Regions from separate parts of the Homo sapiens genome. Here region 2 is linked to region 1. Evidence: promoter capture Hi-C in 16 types of primary human blood cells and fetal thymus (Javierre and others, 2016). All regions are on one chromosome and are shown on one strand. Each heading gives the region's core, a stretch centred on a gene start or on the middle of the fragment in contact. The rest is flanking DNA. Distances are from core to core; before and after follow the strand shown. Region 1 holds the start of RAB39B (RAB39B, member RAS oncogene family). Region 2 has its middle 64 kb from the start of VAMP7.

Region 1 (5,358 bases), core at 1,284-3,783:
GATCATAGACCTAAATGAATGAACTACAACTATAAAACTCTTAGAAGAAAGAATGAGTAAACCTTCATGACCTTGGATTGGGCAAAGTATTCTTAGACATGACACCAGAAGCATGAGCAACAAAATAGAAACTCGATAAATTGTACTTCTTAAAAATCTAACTTTGTTTTTCAAAGGACACCCTCAAGAAAGTGAAAAAAAAGAACACACTGAATTGGAGAAAATATTTGCAAATCATATATGTGATAAAGGACTTGTGTCTAGCATATATAAAGAACTCTTATAACTCAATAATACAAAGACTAGTAATCCAGTTTAAAAATGGGCAAAAGATCTAAGTCAATATTTTTCCAAGGAAGATACACAAATGGCCAATAAGAATGTAAAAATATGCTTGAAGTCATCAGTCGTTAGGGAAATGCAAATCAAACTAGAATAAAGTACCACTTCACATCCATGTTAGAGAGAATGTGGAGAAATTGGAACCCCATAGGCTGCCAGTGGGATGTAATATGGTACAGCCACTGTGAAAAAGTCAGGCATTTCATCAAAGGGTTAAACATAGAGTTGCCACAGGACTGAGGAATTCCGTTCTTAGGTATAAATCCCAAAAAACTGAAAACAGATATTAAAAAAAAAAACCTGGCACATGAATATTCGATGGTAGGATTATTTAGAATAGCCAAAAGGTGGGAACAACCCAAATGTCCCTCAATGAATGAATGGATAAACAAGATATGGTCTATCCATATGATGGAATAGTATTCAGCCACAAAAAGGAATGAAGTACTGATACTTGCTACAGTGTGAATGAACCTTGAAAACATTATGCTAAGTGAAAGCAGCCAGTCACAAAAATGCACATATTATATGATTTCATGTATATGAAATGTTCAGAATAGGGAAATTTATAGAGACAGAAAGTACATTAATGGTTGCCAAAGGCTGGAGGAACATGGGATAGAGAGATGATAGCTAAAAGGTTCTGGGTTCCTTTTTTTAAAAAATATATATACATATTTTATTATACTTTTAGTTCTAGGGTACCTGTGCAGAACGTGCAGGTTTGTTACATATGTATACGTGTGCCATGTTGGTGTGCTGCACCCATTAACTCGTCATTTACATTTACATTAGGTAAATGTAATCCCTCCTAATGCTATCCCTCCCCCCTCCCCCCACCCCTCTGGGTTACTTTTTGAAGTGATAAAAATGTTATAAAATTAACTGTGGTGATAGTTGTATATATCTGTGAGTATATTAAAAACCTATGCTAAGAATTGTTCACTTTAAATGGGTGAATTGTACAGTATGTGAATTTTCATGTTAATGAAGCTGATTTTTTTTAAAGAGTAAGGCAACGATAAAAGATTACACATAGAAGGCCGGGCGCGGTGGCTCACGCCTGTAATCCCAGCACTTTGGGAGGCCGAGGCGGGCAGATCACAAGGTCAGGAGATCGAGACCATCCTGGCTAATACAGTGTAACCTTATCTCTACTAAAAATACAAAAAATTAGCCGGGCGTGGTGGCGGGCACCTGTAGTCCCACCTACTCGGGAGGCTGAGGCAGGAGAATGGCATGAACCCGGGAGGTAGAGGTTGCAGTGGGCCGAGATCGCGCCACTGCACTCCAGCCTGGGCGACAGAGAGAGACTCTGTCTCAAAAAAAAAATAAAATAAAATTACACATAAAAAATACAAAGGATATGAAGAGACAATTCCCAGAAGAGGAAATGAAATGGTCAATACACAAGACTTGGTATTGACCTCATCAGTAGTCAGAGAAATGTAAAAATAAAGCAATGAGACATATTTTTATTTAACTAAATTCTATTGAGAAGAATTAAGAAAGAATAAAACATACATATGATGCTTGAAATAATGCAGAGCGATGGTCTTTTCACACATTGCTGGGTAGAATTTAAACTGTTAAATAGTTTTGGAAAGTAGAATGCCCATGTCCGTTAAATTTAAAATACTTATACTCTTTGAATTCATGGCCCCTTTTTTAAGACTGTAGCTCACAGAAATAAAATACTTGTGGCTACACTTTAAAATAAGTTATGACAAAAGGGAAATTAGGTGGAAATGGAAAGATATTTATGTTGCTTTATTAATTGCAAAAAGCAATTATTAATTGAAAGTAAGGCCCCAGTTTAATTTTTGTAAAAACAAACAGCAATAAATGCATATAGGAATACAAACACATATAATATTTGTGTGTTTATGTGAGCATGGAAACACTTGTAGACTAATATATAATTATGTGCCTTCCCTTTTTTGTGCAGTTTTGTATTGCTTTGCTAGTTTCAATGAAAAGGTATGACATTGGCAGTTTGAACGACAGAGAACAGTTTTAATGAACAGAGGGTGGGTGGGGTAGTTAGAAAGGGAGGGATCGCGCTAATGTTGCAGCCATTTTGTGTGCGCTCCTCTTACAGATAGTGCGGCGGCCCAGGCGTCGCGTCTACGCGGGGGATTACAGTAACCCGGTTGTCAGTGATGAGTCAGAGTGCGTGGTGCTGATGCTGCTGCCATTTCATCACCTTTGCGAGCGCAGCATCCATCCCTCCGCTCTCCCGGCGCCTGGGCCTACCCAGCTTCGGGCTCCCAGGCCAGCGATGCGCTCGCGGCTGAGCTAGATCCTGCCGAGCCGCGCTCTCTGAGGCGTCGGCGGGGCGCCCCCTCCCGCCGTCCCCGGTCCGGGCCAAGGAGACCTGCAGAGCCGCGGCCATGGAGGCCATCTGGCTGTACCAGTTCCGGCTCATTGTCATCGGGGATTCCACAGTGGGCAAGTCCTGCCTGATCCGCCGCTTCACCGAGGGTCGCTTTGCCCAGGTTTCTGACCCCACCGTGGGGGTGGATTTTTTCTCCCGCTTGGTGGAGATCGAGCCAGGAAAACGCATCAAGCTCCAGATCTGGGATACCGCGGGTCAAGAGAGGTTCAGGTGGGAGCGCAGTCCGGGCCCGCAAGCAGTGGGAGGGTCTTCGGGGTTTGCACCGCCTCTGGGGAGAGAGGACTTCCTGGTTCTAGGTGCGGTCCAGGAGGGCAACACCAAGGGTCTTGAGGATTCTGCCGAAGCCCACCTTCGGCTAACCCGGAGTTTAGTGCAAGGAAAGAAGCGCCCTGGCAGGGAAGGCCGGTCAATAACACATATTGCTTGCACCACAACTCCACCAACCTGCCCTTTGGTGGCTAACAAACTAGCTGGAATTGATCTCTGTATCTGTAATTCATCAATCTCAGTCCCTATGTTACATACTTTCAAAAACGTTCCCAGGTCATCCTAACATAACTGACAGAGATTTAAATACATAAATACATGTGTATTATGTTTTATTTCCACATCTGTGTGTGTGCACATATATATGCTAACATATGTTCTAACATGAAATAGATACGATTGATTCCTTCTTGCAACCAGCACACATTCAGTGATCATCTACTATGTGCCAGACTCTGGGCTTGTTCCTGGGAAAACAGTGTGAGGAGACTCACACAAGGGGATGCCATGTAATCTAAACAGACAAAGCCCCTTCATTCTTGGAACTTCTGTGCTAACATAGTTGAGGGAAATAGATAATCAGCAATTACGAAAGTGTGTCTTGCTCATATTTGTATGCCCACTCCCTACTGTAACACTTGGCACAAAATGAACATGCTTAATTTCAATCAATGAATTCATTGAATAATCAATGAATATGTTTACTTTCACTCAGAACCCTTTGCTTTTCTATTGTAGCATGTATTATTTGTAATTATATGTATGAACACAGAGGAGGAAAGGTTAACTGGAGAAGATGAGACCGGATGAGTATGACTGCCTAAGCAAAGACAGGAAACGCCCAGGGATAGGAAACAGCATGAATAAAGACAGAAGTGAGAGGGAGCAGAGTGTACACAGAAAACTTTGCAGAGAACAATTTGAACTAAAGTAGAGCAGCAGGAACCAGATCAAGAAAACTCAATAGCCCAAGTTTATGATCATTTACTCATTTATCTATTGAAAACTAACTAAGCATAGAAGATACTGGTTGGGTAATTGAAGAGGGGTAAGGAGAAGAAATAATTACAAACTTAAGTTACCTCCAGCTCCCCACTTCCACAAACACCACTGTGGAAAATATCCTTGTACAGGTTCACTTTGAACTTGCGATTGCATTTCTCCTAAGCAAAGAAAGGTATCTTTTATGTGTTTGTTGGAATTTCTTTCTATATGAACAGCCTGTTCATATCCACTGCTTATTTATTTATTGGGCAATATGGACTTGTAAGAGTACTTTATAGATTAAGAATATTAACCCTTTCCTGTCATGTATGTTGTAAGATATATTCCTAGTTTATCATCTGTCTTTTCACATTATTTAAGATTTTTTAATGTAGGGAAGAATTTAAGGTTTATGTAGCCTTATGTCCATGCTTAGAAGGCCTTTGTCACTTTCTTTGCTAAGTACTCACAAACAATTAATGTAATAATATATTCCAGAGTTTTGACAGTGATCTACAGCTTGCTTGTTGATTTCTTGAATCAACCTTCTCACAAATCAAAACCTTTGTTTGTTCATGTCTAAATTTTCTGGTAAATCTACCATTCTCCATGAATCTTCAAACCTAAGAGACGAGAAATGCTTTCAGTCCCCAGGGCTGATTTGCCTGATTTTGGAGACTTAAAGTCATTTGTAAGTTTTACTTTTACCATCATCTAGCTTGGACTGTAGGTCCCTGGACAATGCTTGTTCTGCTAACATTGAGCCATTTTCTCTAAGCTATTGAGTCCTTCGTTGTCTATCTTCTTTATCTGAGGAGACAGAAAACCTAAAAATAGACATAGGTAAAAAAAATCACAGTAGTCTAAAGCAAGTGACTGCAGAGACAAATAGGTCCATACCCTGTAATAAGCTTTAATACACTGTAAGCAAAGTGCCATAATGTATATTTATAATGAGGTTCCTCAAGTCAAGAAGTTAAAACATGTGAAGTTTCTTCTGATGGCTCCTGAGTTGAGTTGGCCTCTCTGAAATGTGTCAGGAAACAGGGCTGAGAGGCACTTTGCCTGAACCCTTCGCCATCTCTCTTTTTCCCATTCCCACAGGCCTTGAAAATAAAAAATAAAATTGTGTTTCTCCTCACAGAAGAGATTGAGGATCCCTGTTAGCTAATAATAATAATAATAATAATAATAAACAATAATAATAATGGAAAGAGAAAAAAACATGGTAATGATAAATGGAAAAAATGGAGTAGCAAGATACCTACTTTAAATATTTTGTTAACTATCATAAATTCATTTCTATGTTTTAAAAATCCTGTTTCAACTGCTAGCATTTGTAATGAACTCTCCACGTCACAGAACAC
Region 2 (5,358 bases), core at 2,134-4,633, 550 kb before region 1:
CACTCCCTGAGTTGCACTGCCTGGAGTTGGGGGAGGGTTGACACAAGCACTCCCTTGGCTGCCACAGCTAATGTCTCACTGGTTCATATGCACTCCCATTCCACTGGCTCTGAGCACAGTGCAGCACCTGAAATTGCTCAAGGGCTGCAGTTCTTGTAGCCTGACTGCCTTTTAAACCTATTGAGAAGCAAAGGGTACTTTAATTGGCCAGCAGTGGAGCTAGCCAAAACTTGGGTTTTTATCACTGGGGCAGAGAATTCCCTTTTGGCTGGGGCTAGTTTAAATGCTCCCTCCATGGGCACTGGAAGGATTCTGCTCTGTGTTGTGTTCTGCTGTAACAGGGCAGCATTGGAACTCAGTGTGGGAACTCAGTGCCACAATCACTTCTTTCTTGCTTCCCCAAGCACACAAATTCTCTCTTCGTGTGCTGCTGGGGGATGGAGAAGGGGTGGTGTAGGCAATGTAAGACTGTATTTTATATCTTTTGCAGTGCCTCTTTTCTTGATATTATTTTAAAACCAGGTACTATAATTGCTCACCTGATTTTTGGTTCTTATGAAGATGCTTTCTTGCATGGATAGTCATTTAATTTGGTTTTCCGGTAGGAGGATGATTGCTGGAGGGTTATATTTGGCTATCTTGTTCTGCCTTCTCAAGCTGTTTAAAATATATTTTTTCAACTCTTCCCATTTAGTCTGTGTCTTCCTGGTGGTGAGAGTTTCTTTTAGGTAGCATCCAGGTGGGTCTTTAAAAAATTCCTTCAGCCAGTCTATATCTTTTAAGTGGGGAATTTAATCCATTTACATCCAAGGTTATTATTGGTAGATGAGGACTTATGTTATTTTATTGATTTTTTTTCTGGTTGTTTTGTATATCCTTTGTTCTTTACTTCTCTTATTGTTTATTTTTGTGGTTGGGTGGTTTTCTGTAGTTATAAAGTTTGATTGTTTTCTCTGTGTGTCATCTCTACTAGTGAGTTTTGCAGTTTTGCATGTTTTCATAATGGTGGTTATGGTCTTTTGATTTCTAGAAGTCAGATTCCCTTGAGCATTTCTTTTAATACTGGTCTAGTGTTGATGTGTTCCTTTAATTTTTGTTTATCAAAGATTTTATTTCTTCTTCATTTCTGAAGGATAGCTTTGCCGTGTATATTATTCTTTCCTGGCGGTTTCTTTTTCCAGTATTTTGAAAATATCATCCTATCCTCTTCTGGCCTGTAAGATTTTTTGCTGAGAAAGCCACTATTAGTCTAATGAGGGTTCCTTTATATGTGACTTGATGTTCTTCTCTTGCTGTTTTTAGAATTATTGTTTTGTCTTTAACTTTCAACAATTTGAACATTATGTGGCTTGCAGAGAATCTGTTTAGGTTTAATCTGTTTGGCAACCTTTGAGTTTCCTGGTTCAGGATGGCCATCTCCCAAGGCTTGTGAAGTTTTCAGCTATTATTTCATGAAACATATTTATACACCTTTTCCCCCCCCTTCTTTTTATGGAATGTCAATAATTTGAATATTTGTTTGCTTAATACTGTCCCATACATTCTGTATGCTTTCTTTATTCTCTTTTTTTTTTGTCTACCTCTGTTATTTGAAAACACCTGTCTTTAAGTTCAGAAGTTCCTCTGAACTCCTTTCTTCTGCTTGGTCTTATCTGTTGTTGAAGCCCTCAATTGTCTTTTTTTTAAATTTTATTCATTGAATTCTTCACCTCTGGGATTTCTGTTTTGTTCATTTTTATGATATCTATCGCTGTGTTGAATTTGTCATTCAAGACATGAATTATTTTCCTGATTTTTTGTATTGTCTACCTGTATTCTCTTATATCTCATTGAGGTTTCTTAAGATTATTATTTTGAATTTTTTTCTGACATTTTATATATTTCCTTATGATTGGGGTCTGTTACTGGAGAATTATTATGTTCCCTTGGAGGTGTCATGTTTCTATGCTTTTTCATGTTTGATGTGTCCCTATGTCAATTTGTACACATCTGGTGGAAAAGTCACCTCTTCCAATTTTATGGAGTAGGTTTTGTAGGGAAAGATATATTCATATAGATGAGTCTTGAGGTCTTGAATAAGATATAATCTTATTCATATAGATCAGGTCAGTGGGGTGTGTTGGGTTGGTTCTGGGTGGATGCAGTAATATAGTCTCCATGTAGTTTCTTTAGCTGTAATCCACACCGGTGATGTTTGCAAGGGTCTCATTGGTCTAGGCTAAGAGAGTTTGTACTGGCAGTACTGGTGTGGCTTTGCTTTTTTAGAAACAGCTCATCAGGCTGTTTCTCAGGTCAGTGGTGAGGTGTGCACATGGCGGGTCAGCCAACTTAGAGTCTGACTCCCTGGGGATGGAGCTACAGGGTTGTTTCTCCAGCTGGGGGCATGAACCCATGGTTGCTTACCAGCCTCAGACTGGGCATAGCCTATGGGACTGTTTCTCAGGCCCAAAAGATGGCCATACAGTTTACTTCATTTTTGGTCATGTTAAGCTTTTAAATACCAATGAAAAATATAGTTGGAGATATCCAGAAGGCATGTGAGGATAATACGTTTGAACTTCAAGGTAAGATCTGGGTAGCAGTCATTAAAAGAAAATTCACATGGTAGTTGAAGTTATATGATTACATAAAATAATCTAAAAACAACATACAGTGTGGGGGGCTTCAGAGTGTGTGTGTGTGCATGTGTGTGTGTACACACAGTCTTGCTTCTTTGTTTTTAATTGGTTTTGAATGTCTTCGGTTAGGACACACACTATAATTCAAACACAGTCTTTACCATTCCCTATTTTCTTATACCTGGAAAACTTACAGTTATTTTACCTGTTTGACCTCTGGAAATAACTTGTGTTTTCAATTTCTGGTGTAGCAAGAAAAGCAGTGGACTTTTTATCACTTAACATTAAAAATGGATTTTAACCTAAAATATTTTTAATATTATTTTAAATCACCAGAAAAATTGATTTTTAAATATCTTGATGTACAGTTTTATGAATTTTAACACATGTATGGAGACATGTTATCACTACTACATCAGGACATATAATAATTTTAACATAAAACTTCCTCATTCTACCATTCTACCACTTTATAGTCATCCCTCCTCCTACCCATAAATGCTGGCAACCTGTTCTATTTCTATATCTTTTTTTTTTTTTTTTTTTTTGAGACAGAGGAGTCTCACTCTTTCGCCCAGGCTGGAGTGCAGTGGCACGATCTCAGCTCACTGCAAGCTCCACCTCCCGGGTTCACGCCATTCTCCTGCCTCAGCCTCCCGAGTAGCTGGGACTACAGGCGCCCGCCACAATGCCTGGCTAATTTTTTTTGTATTTTTATTAGAGATGGGGTTTCACCATGTTAGCCGGGATGGTCTCAATCTTCTGACCTCGTGATCCACCCGCCTCGGCCTCCCAAAGTGTGTTCTATATCTTTATAGTCTTGCTTTTTCAGAACGTTATATAAATGATATAATGCAGTATGCAGTCTTTTGAGACTGGCTTTTTTATGCAACATAATGTCTTTAAGAGTCATCCAAACTGTTGTGTGTATCAATAGTTTGGGCTTTGTATTCTGAGTAGTATTTCATTGTGTGGTTGTGCCACAGTTTATTCATGTATTCACTTATTGAAGGACATTTGGATTCTTTCTAGTTTGGGGCAATTATGAATAGTGCAGGTATAAGCATTGGTGTTCAGACATAAGTTTTCATTTCTCTAGGACAGAAACTCAGGAATGGAATTGCTGAGTCACATGGTAAGTCTATGTTTAACTTTGTAGGAAACTACCAAACCATTTTGCAGAGTGGATGCACCATTTTTTATTCCCCTAGTAATGTATGACAGACCCAGTTGCCCAGCACTTGATATTGTCAATTTTTTTTAAAAAAATTAAAACATCATATTGTACCCCATAAATGTATAATGTATACTATTATTATTGTTTGTTAATTAAAAATTTTAAGATGTTTCTTTCTTGCTATAAGAGAAAAAGATGCTTTTTTAATAGAAGGAAATATCCCAGAAACAGATAAAATGTAAAGTAAAATCATTCATTCTCTTCCCAACCACGAGGAAATTGCTAATGGTTTCAAGTCTATCCTTCCAGAGTATTAACTCATTCATGAGCATATATAGATGTATACGACTCTCCTTTTGTTACTTTAAAAATTCAAGTGGTATAAGAGAATACGGTTCTGCATATAAATGTGCATTGTACATTTTTATTTCTATGGTCTATTTTGAGTTAATTTTTGTATAAGGTATGAGGTTAAGCTTGAGGGCTTTTTGTTTTGTTTTCTCATTTGCATATCGATGTACCATTGTTGCAACATCATTTGTTGTTCCTCCACTAAATTGCTTTTGCATCTTTGCCAAAAATCAATTGACCCCTAATTGTGTGGGCATACTTATGGTCTCATTTTGCTCCATTGATCTATTTGTCTATCCCTTTGCCAGAACCACACTGTTTTGATTACTGTAGCTTTATAGTAATTTTTTTTTTGAGACAGAGTCTCACTCTGTCTCCCAGGCTGGAGTGCAGTGGTGTAATCTCCGCTCACTGAAACCTCTGCCTCCTGGGTTCAAGCAATTCTCCTGCCTCAGCTTCCCGAGTAGCTGGGACTACAGGCACCCACCACCACGCCCAGCTAATTTTTGTATTTTTAGTAGAGACAGGGTTTCACCATGTTGGCCAGGATGGTCTCGATGTCCTGACTTTGTGATGCGCCCACCTCGGTCTCCCAAAGTGCTGGGATTACAGGTGTGAGCCACCACGCCTGGCCAGTAATTCTTTATTTTTATTTTTATTTATTTTTTTACTTATTATTTTATTATTATACTTTAAGTTCTAGAGTACATGTGCAAAACATGCAGGTTTATTACATATGTATACATGTGCCATGTTGGTTTGCTGCACCTATTAACTCATCATTTACATTAGGTATTTCTCCTAATGCTATCCCTCCCCCATGCTCCCACCCAACGACAGGCCCCGGTGTGTGATGTTCCCCGCCCTGTGTCCAAGTGTTCTGATTGTTCAATTCCCACCTATGAGTGAGAACATGTGGTGTTTGGTTTTCTGTCTTTGCGATAGTTTGCTGAGAATGATGGTTTCCAGCTTCATCCATGTCGCTACAAAGGACATGAACTCATCCTTTTTTATGGCTGCATAGTATTCCGTGGTGTATATGTGCCACATTTTCTTAATCGAGGCTCTCATTGACAGACATTTGGGTTGGTTCCAAGTCTTTGCTATTGCGAATAGTGCCACAATAAACATACGTGTACATGTGTCTTTATAGTAGCATGATTTACAACCTTTTGGGTATATACCCAGTAATGGGATCGCAGGGTCAAATGG

The links. Contacts are between HindIII fragments. The CHiCAGO score rates a contact against its expected background, and 5 or more counts as called.
Region 2: a contact is called between a fragment that was not itself captured here and the fragment with the promoter of RAB39B in region 1, in 2 of 17 cell types (monocytes and M1 macrophages). The highest score is 6.9, in monocytes.

Annotation. Positions count from the first base shown.
Region 1 is chrX:155,261,666-155,267,023 of GRCh38, reverse strand. It overlaps RAB39B (RAB39B, member RAS oncogene family), which reads left to right and starts at 2,533. Exons shown (of 2, transcript NM_171998.4): 1 at 2,533-2,950. The coding sequence starts at 2,736. RefSeq lists silencers at 2,486-2,535, 2,546-2,755. The HindIII fragment of the contact is 10,241 bases long and covers 1-4,904 here.
Region 2 is chrX:155,814,434-155,819,791 of GRCh38, reverse strand. No RefSeq gene overlaps it. Among named protein-coding and RNA genes, the nearest start is that of VAMP7, 64 kb to the left of the region's middle. The HindIII fragment of the contact is 1,781 bases long and covers 2,493-4,273 here.